Linked DNA regions of Homo sapiens: region 1 is linked to region 2. The links are contacts of gene promoters, found by promoter capture Hi-C in human tissues and cell types (Jung and others, 2019). All regions are on one chromosome and are shown on one strand. Each heading gives the region's core, a stretch centred on a gene start or on the middle of the fragment in contact. The rest is flanking DNA. Distances are from core to core; before and after follow the strand shown.

Region 1 (4,638 bases), core at 1,550-4,049, 500 kb after region 2:
CAGAATGACTAGTTAAAAGTCACCAGTGAAGTCACCACCATCTAAAATACCCATGTAAACTCCTGACATTCCCTGATAGGATTTATAGAATTTTCTTTGCTCTCAAGAGATTAACAAGGAACTGAGTGGTATTCTCAAACATTAAGGGATGACAGGTTTTCTGACACTCTAGACAGCTACATATTACAGCCTGCTCTTGTGCACATTTCAAAACTGTGGGCAAATCACATTAAGAAATGTTCAGTGTTCAAATGGTCATTATTCAAAAACCTACAAGTATAGAGTTAACAGAGTCTTCTACGTTCTCTATCTCTGTTTTTTTCCTGCCTACTCTGAATCAGCTGACTTTTCTAGTGTTGTTAATATAAAACTCATTGCTTATGGCATTCCAGCTAAAAATTTTTAAAAATAAGTCTTAAAGGGCTTTTAAGTTAATGGCTTTACAAGTTACAATGGCTCCATGGTGAGCAACAACCTAGATACCTTTATAAATACACATTTAGATTTGTCTTACAATTATGTACAGTGATAAAACACTTAACTTACTTAAAAATTAATAATCTAAAAGAAAAGGAACTAGGTAAGTGTTTACAAAAGTTAGGCTCTTAGATCAAACAGGTCAAAATCTTAAGCTCAGAGCAATAATATGTTATCTCTGTCCAGCAAAAAAAATGTTTGCTTTTGTTGCCACACAGAAGCCAAAATGTAAAAGCGGAGAGAAAAAAGAAACTACTAAAATTCTTTTGCCCACATTTGCTAACCAAGCAAACTAAATCAGCAAACAAAAGATAGACTGGTTACTAATTCAATGCTACTTGGAGATTTTGTTCTTTCTTACACTATTCCACCAGTCCTAGTTAAAATGTACACATTGACAATTTAACCATAAATTTATTAGAAACTGAACAAAGGCAGAGAAAAGGGTGAAAGGCTTTTTTTTTTTTTTTTTTTTTTTTACTCAAACTGCTGTGAAAACTGCTTTACCCAAAATCCACAGCCTTCACCAGATTATCTATTAGGGCAAATAAAGTTTAGCCTCTATATGTAAACAGGTCCCAATTTTGTCAGAAATATAATTTGGGTCCAAATGTTTTATCAGCCAGTGAGTTTGTATTACTATCTCACAACCAAAATTCTAAAATAAAAGCGATGAGATTTTTATTTTTTGTGTGTATACATATGTGTTTAGATGTGTTCATATAGAAGCACATGTATCATGTTACATATTATGTCTACATGGTGAAATCTGGCATAGTCAGCCAGAAATTCCTTAAAGATAAATGAGTACTCATATAAAGTACAAAATATATAATAATTACCAAATGCCTTTTAGTTCACATGACTTAAATAAATCTTTTTATTATTATTTTATTTTTATTATTTGATTTTATTTATTTACTGAAGCTCATTTTTAAATTATTGGTAAAAATAAAAATGTCTTTAGAATTGTCAGCATATATTTCTGCCTGGGTTTACTGGTTACTTTAATATTTGTCTCCGATAGATATTTTAAGGTGTCAGGGTTTCACATGAAGGTTATACAACTGTAAGCCCAGGCTAAAACAAAGTGATTTTTGTATAATTATTTGATAAGCAAAACTAACTTAATACTGTTGCTTTAATAAAAACAGCTGTATCTTCTGAGTTGTTGGGAACATGCTCCTACATTTAACTTCAAGGTCCTTAATCAGGTGAACATTGATATTCACAAGCTGTAAAAATGATTAACAGGGAAATAACTTGAAATGAGATCGAGTTTTGTCTAATATCCCAGTTCTCACTGGTAATCCAGGTAAATGTTAGAAAATTAAATGTAAATGAGAAAAATGTCTATAAAGTTTTCATGTAACTTGATGTCTTAAAGTTACATTAAATAATAGATACTAATTAAATGTGTAGGTCATTTCCAAATAAGATTTTAAAGTTATGTTCTAGGGGACCAGGGGCCATGGCTCACACTGTGGGCCGGGGCTCACATCTGTAATCTCAGTACTTTGGAAGGCCAAGTTGGGTGGATCGCTTGAGCTCAGGAGTTCGAGACCAGGCTGGGCAACATAGCAAAACCCAGTCTCCACAAAAAAATACAAAAATTAACCAGATCTGGTTGCATACGCCTGTAGTCCCAGCTACTCGAGAGGCTGAAATCGAAGAATTACTAGAGCCCAGAAAGCAAAGGTTACAGTGAACTGAGACTGTGCCACTGCACTCCAGCACAGGTGACAGAGCCAGACCCTGTCTCAAAAAAGAAAAAAAAAAAAAGTGTGTGTGTGTATTATATATATATATATATTAGGGAATATGTTTGTAAAAATTATAAAATGGTTCTTATCTATAAAATACTGATAGGTGACAGACAATTTAAAATTTCTTACTTTCAGCTAGGCATGGTGGTTCACAATTATTTTTATTACAAAAATAAAATTTCTGTAATCTCAGCACTTTGGGAGGCTGAGGCGGGCAGATCATCTGAGGTCAGGAGTTCCAGACCAGCCTGGCCAACATGGCAAAGCCCCATCTTTACCAAAAATACAAAAAATTAGCCAGGTGTGGTGGCGCATGCCCATAATCCCAGCTACTTGGGAGGCCGAGGTGGGAGAATCACTTGAACCCGGGAGGCGGAGGTTGCAGTGAGCCAAGATCATGCCACTGCACTCCAGCCTCGGCAACAGAGTGAGATTCCGTCTTAAAAAATTAAGGAAATTTTCACTAAAATTTAAGGTTACTAAGAGTTAAAATTTTTAATTAGTACATATAATTCTATATATACAATGTGCCAAAAAATAAGGCGTTCTTGGTGAGAAAAAAATTATTAGAAAGTCATAAAAAATACATTTTATTGAGAAAAAGAATATTTTTATCGAATTTGGGGATCATTTAAAAGTTGTTTCACAGTAGCTAGAAAAGAACTAGTAAGTAGGAGACAGATGTAAAGAAAGTTATGGATATTAAGATGTAATTTTGGTAACAGAAGTCTTTCTAAAGATTGAAATTTGACATTAAAATACATTAATACAAAACAACAAAATAAGTTGGTCCCCTATGTTAGAATGACAGTTTGCTTACTGATTTGCTCTTAGTAAAATTTTAAGAGGTTTTATTTTTAATTCTAAAATCTTATTTAATAGAAGATTTAAACTAGTTCTAATTCTTCCTGAGATCTAACTAACTTCCCTAGTTTCAGATTGGAAATGCGGTGTCTTTCTTTCAGAATGGCCATTTCATTTCTAGAGGTAACATTTTTCTTTTTCAAACTTCTCAGATTTATATCCGAAATTCAACTTTCTCTGTACCACATTGCAGGTCATAAACCACTGCCTTCTGTTTTCTCCCCCTTTAAAAAGGTGTATCTTTTTGCATGGCCACAATGGTAACAGTGGTAGCTCTGTCTTTCAACATTTTTGTCAACTCCTGTAACATTTTTTCTCTGGTTCTAGTTCTGCTGTTATGGCCTGACACTGAAATGGTTAGCATGAAGGTCTGGAAAACCAATGTTTTCCTCCAACATAACTTGAATCTGTACTTTTGGCTTTTCTTCCTATGTCTAAATTGTTGTTCCATGTAACCAGGAAACTTCCCATGCTGTTACTAACAGCCATGTATTCCCTGGCTCATGGTACTAATTTCCTTGTTTACATTCCTCTAAAATACAGTGTACACTCATATCCCCGTACATACTCTTCCTGTGTCTGATTAAATTCAAGTACCCTTTTTGATTACTCAGGAAAACTAAGCTTTAAAAGGGTTCGAGTTTTCATATCCACATAACTTTCTGTATAGCTTTTAAGTCTCTGGTTAAATGACTATTCTTTTAACAGTGACCTGTGATTCTGTTTTGATCAAATGTTTTCAATCTTTGACAGGTTTCCCCAGAGTCAAAAATCCTAAATTAAGTCTTAAAATTAACTTCGGGACTGTTCAGCTGGGTCCCTGGAGAGTCTAAAGAATGGATCTCTCACCTTGTAGAGATATTAAATTATTAGATTTGGTAGACTGTATGAGCGGGCATTGTCAAATGTTGTGATACTGCATGGGAGAGCATTGTCAAATTATGTGATATTAGATCCCACTTCAGTTACATTTATAGGTATGTTATTGACACGCATGTTCCAAAAATTATATAAACTTATAAAAATTTAATGATTCATAATTTTGATTGTTACGCTAAATATTTGCTAAAGTTACATTTGTATAAATATGTTATTAATGCATTCTGAAGATTGTATGAAATTTATAAAAGCCTGGTGGTCCTGATGTGATGCTGTCAGTCATGATTCTGGTTATTGTCTTAACATGCTGCACGTAAGAGAAGTAACTAAATTTCCTTGTCAATTGGGAACTTTCATCAGATTTTCATCATAGCTATTCTGTTTCCATCATCCACAGTTCTGCTTTGAATTCGAAAAATATTTGCGATCAGCGATAGTCCAAATTTGCTTTTCATGGAAAAAACTCTTAACAGGTCCTCTTGAACACAGGTTTCTGATAACTTTCAGATCAATAAACTACCCCAGCCTTTACCACTATGCAATATAGGCATGTAAGAAACTTGTACTTATACCCTTTAAATATATTAAAACAAATGTTTTAAAAAAATAAACTAAACACAAATTCCTAGAACTCTAATAAACTTAAGGGTTC
Region 2 (4,751 bases), core at 1,861-4,360:
AAAACCTCGACTGACTCAAATTCTAAAGGTTACAAAACCACACCCTAATTGTAATCAACCTATGTTGCAACTGTTGAGTTGGTTAATGTGTATTTGAAAGTCACTGATTATCCTGAGTAGTGAAATATTGCCTCATAGTACATGGTAAGTAAATGTTGGTGACTCTAGTTGAACTGAATTTCTTGCTTGGAGGGAATGATGTCAGAGTTAGGAGATAGGTTTCCAGCCTCAGCCCTATCATTTTCAGCCTCTGTGTCCTTGAACAAAATACTGAATCTCCAAGGCCCAGCTTCCTTACCTCTAAAGTGGAAATAATTTTACCACAGGCAAGGGTAATTGAGAGAATCAAAAGAGTTATGATGGGTATAAAAATTCTCTGTGAATTGTCAGAATCCCTGTAAACATGTTTGATAAAACATTGTCCATATGGGATTTGACAAAACTTAATTTTTCCTTACTGCAGTTAGAAATAACTGCACTAATCCAGTATTATTTCCAATAGCCAGGATGTAGAAACAATCTAAGTGTTCATTCACAAATAAATGGATGAAGAAATTGTGTTTTATATTTATATACACAATGAAATATTTTTTAAACTTTAAAAGGAGATACTGCCATTTGCAATGACATGGAATGAACCTGAAGGATATTATGCTAAGTGATATGAGCTAGATACAGAGGAAAAAAGATTGCATGATTTCACTTATATGAAGAATCTTTAAAAAGTCAAATACATAGAAACAGAGAGTAGAATGGTGGTTACCAAAAGTGGGAGCCAGAGGAAATGGAAAAAAGTGTGTCAAAGAGCCAAATTTGTGGTTAGATAGGATGAATAAGTCTAAAGATCTAATAAACAGCAAGAGGACTATAGTTAATATACTATACTGAAAATTTGCTAAAAGAGTAGATTTTAGGTGCTTATACCACAAAAAAGAAGTTAATTATAGAATTGATTAATATGTAAATTTGTTTAACCATAGTAATGATTCCACTGTTTATATGTCTACCAATGTTGTATACCTTAAATATATACAATGGAAATAAACAAATAACTGTACTAGTCATTTAGAATACCACAATGACATCTTTACAGAATATGCCTTTGTACAAGCATTGCCATTAGTGATCTAGAAATGTATGTATCATTTTAGTGATATATAGAGCCTCATGAGCGCTAAATGTCATCTCCAGTTCAGGTCTGCACAACTGTGTTTGTTCTGTGCCATGGGTCTGTTTAATGATTTCCCTACCTCCCATTCACCACTGAAGCACATGCCTGTTGTTCTGCCTATAATTCCCCTTCCTTGCTGTGCAATATTTCATTCCATTATTTCTGACACAGACCAAAAAAGCAATAGAAACAGCAGTGTCTGGAGGCAAGTGGGAGCTGGAGAAGCCATAGTTTCTGAGATCTTACCCACTTAATTCTCTGAGATTGGCTCTTTCCTCAGTTATACTGAGTAGGTTTCAGCTCTTCAGTGACAGAGAGGGGAGAAACCCTAGCTTTTATTTCTTCTCTTGAGAATGTACAACCCTGTTATTTTGTGAACAGTGTGGTGTAGATTCAGAGTGAGAAATGTTTTTAGGATTTATTTTATTTTGCTAAAACTGTTCTCAAGGCAGCTCTGGTGTAAGTGAGAATATACCACAGCGGGCGTCAGAAGATCTCAGTTCAAATCCCAGCCTGCCATTTATGAGCTGTGGGACACTGGACAGGTCATCTGTTCTCCTAGAGTCTCCCTTTCCCCATTTGGAAAATATGAAATAATATTCTCAGCCGTCCAGTGTTTTTCACGGGGTTTAATGGAAAAAGGTGTGTATGTTTACTTAGTTAATTGATAACCGGTTTAGCCATTTAAGATGAATGAGTTTGTTAGCTGCTTTATGTTTAGGCAGCTGTAATGTTAGTACTACATTAAAATATTTCAAAAGGATCTCATTTTCAAGGAAAATGATCTAGTGTTTGAGAAAGCATTATAGTGTTGCAGTCTTGCAGATCCTTAGCTCAGCTAGGTCCGAGTTGTCTTATGCAGGAAGAATTAGGCACACAGACACTGGAGAGTGAGTGGAGTAGAATTTATTAAGTGAAAGGAAAACTCTCAGCAAAGAGAGAGGCCCTGAAAGCAGGTTGCAGATTGCCACTTCACAGTTGAATACCAGGACTTTTATAGAAAAGCTGATGAGGCTGGGATACTTATTTGCATAAGGCGTGAATTCCTGGTGTTTCCACCCCTTCCTTCCATTGCGCGTGTGGGCTCTTAGTCTAAGCCACTCCATATTGATTTATTTCCCTTCCTGCGCATGTGTTAAAGGTAGGAATTTTTCACTGTGGGCATATTTAGGCAAGCTCCCTGTGCAAGTTCCCTTATCTGCACAAAACATCTAGTGTAAGTACTTGGGGTTTTTGTGGATTGGGCAATGACCTGGAAGGGTTGGAGGTTCTCTGGGGACCCTTCCCTTACTGCCTGCCTAATGCAAGCTGGCTAACTCCTCTCAATAGGATAAACATTATTTTATGTACAAGGAATATAATACACAGATTGCCCTCAAAGTCATATTTCCAACTGCTCATCAATCTAAAAATCCAAAATTTTGAATAATTTTTTGATGAAATAATTTATTTCATTGTTTCTCAATTTTGGCTGCACAGTGGAACCACCTGGGCTGTTTGAAAAAACCTAGGCCTAGCCAGGCACGGTGGCTCATGCCTGTAATCCCAGCACTTAGGGAGACCAGCCTGGCCAACATGGTGAAACCCTGTCTCTGCTAAAAATACAAAATCACCTGGGCGTAGTTGTGCATTCCTGTAATCCCAGCCACGCCAGAAGCTGAGGCAGAATCGTTCGAATCCAGGAAGTGGAGGCTGCAGTGAGTTGAGATCTTGCCATTGCACTCCAGCCTGGGCAACAAGAGCGAAACTCCATCTCAAGGAAAAACAACAACAACAACAACAAAATCCTGGGCTCTGCTTCAGACTAGTTAAACCAGAATCTCCAGGGTGGGGCACCGGAAAGAACAAGAAAAAAGAACACCTTATTTTTATCTTCTTCAGTGAGCCAATGTTCATTCAAAAGAGAGATTAAAGTGCTTTTTGCTGACTAGTCACAGTCAGAGTCAGAATCACAGGTGGATTAGTAGGGAGTGTTATAAAAGCCTTGAAGTGAAAGCCCGCAGTTGTCTTACTAAGAAGAGAAGCCTTCAATGGATCCAGCTGTGGCTCTGGTGCTCTGTCTCTCCTGTTTGTTTCTCCTTTCACTCTGGAGGCAGAGCTCTGGAAGAGGGAGGCTCCCGTCTGGCCCCACTCCTCTCCCGATTATTGGAAATATCCTGCAGTTAGATGTTAAGGACATGAGCAAATCCTTAACCAATGTAAGTATGCTTTATGTTCCTCCAGTAATGTACAAGGTGTATTTAACCTCACAATTCTTAAAGTTTTATTTCATTTTAAAGTGATAAATGATAATTGTATATATTAATGGGGTACAATATTACATTTTGATACATGTATAGATTGTGAATTGATCATATCAGGGTAATTAGCATATCCATCATCTCAAATATTTGTCATTTCTTTGTAGTGAGAACATTTAAAATCCTCTTTTTTAGCTGTTTTGAAATATACAGTACATTAATATTAATTATAGTCACCTTGCTGTCCAATAGAACACCCGAGCTTATTCCTCCTATCTAAGTGTAACTCTGTACCTGTTGACCAACGTATCCCCTTATTTGGCCCATCTCCACCTGCCAGCCTCTGGTAGCCACCATTCTAATCTCTACTTCTCTGAGTTTAACTTTTTAAGATTCCACATAGAAGTGAGATCATATATGATATTTGCCTCTCTCTGCCTGGCTTATTTAATTAATATGATGTTCTGTAGATTCATCCATGCCGTCATAAATAAGAATATTTTTTCCTCTTTAAAAGGCTGAATAGCATTTCATTGTACATATATGTCACATACAAAATCCATTAATTTATTGATGAACACTTAGGTTGTTTCCATATCTTGGCTATTGTCAATAGCACTGCAATAAACATGGAAGTACAGACATGTCTTCCACATACTGACTTCAATTCCTTTGGGTATATACTGGTAGTGGGATTGCTGGATCATCTGATAGTTCTATTTTTGTTTTTTTTAGGAACATCCATACTGTTTTCTCAAATCACAATGCTAATTTACATACCCAAGGTTCACTTTATTCCACATCTTTGTCAACACTTGTTATCTTTTTATCTTTTTGATAATAATAATATCTTATCTATGAGTTGTGATGAGTTATCTCATTGTGGTTTTAATTTGCATTTCTCTGATGATTAAATTTGTTGAGTATTTAAAAAATATATCTTGGCCATTTGTATGTCTTTTTTTGAAAAATGTCTACTCAAATCCTTTGCCCATTTAATTAATTAATTAATTAATTAATTAATAGAGACAGGGTTTTGCTCTGTTGTAGGATGGAGTGTAGTGATGGGATCATGGTCCCTGCAGCCTTGAGCTCCTGGGCTCAAGCCATCCTTCTACCTTAGACCCCCAAGTAGCTGGGGCTACAGGTGTATGCCACCATGCCTGGATAATTTTTTAATGCTTTGTAGAGATGTGGTCTCATTATGTTGTCCAGGCTGGTCTTGAACTCTTGGGCTCAAGCAATCCACCCACCTTTGTCTCTCAAAGTGCTGGAATTACAGACATGAGCCATTGCACTTGACCCCTTTGCTCGTTTTAAATAGAATTATTTATTTGTTA

The links. Contacts are between HindIII fragments. The study calls those that stand out against the background at their distance.
Region 1: a contact is called between a fragment that was not itself captured here and the fragment with the promoter of CYP2C18 in region 2, in 1 of the 25 tissues and cell types used here (mesendoderm cells).

What each region holds. Positions count from the first base shown.
Region 1 is chr10:95,178,309-95,182,946 of GRCh38, forward strand. All of the region lies in intron 3 of LOC107984257 (a long non-coding RNA gene), which reads right to left. Among named protein-coding and RNA genes, the nearest start is that of ACSM6, 14 kb to the right of the region's middle. The HindIII fragment of the contact is 3,205 bases long and covers 1,198-4,402 here.
Region 2 is chr10:94,680,619-94,685,369 of GRCh38, forward strand. CYP2C18 (cytochrome P450 family 2 subfamily C member 18) reads left to right here and starts at 3,111. Exons shown (of 9, transcript NM_000772.3): 1 at 3,111-3,369. The coding sequence starts at 3,202. The HindIII fragment of the contact is 11,159 bases long and covers 1-4,751 here.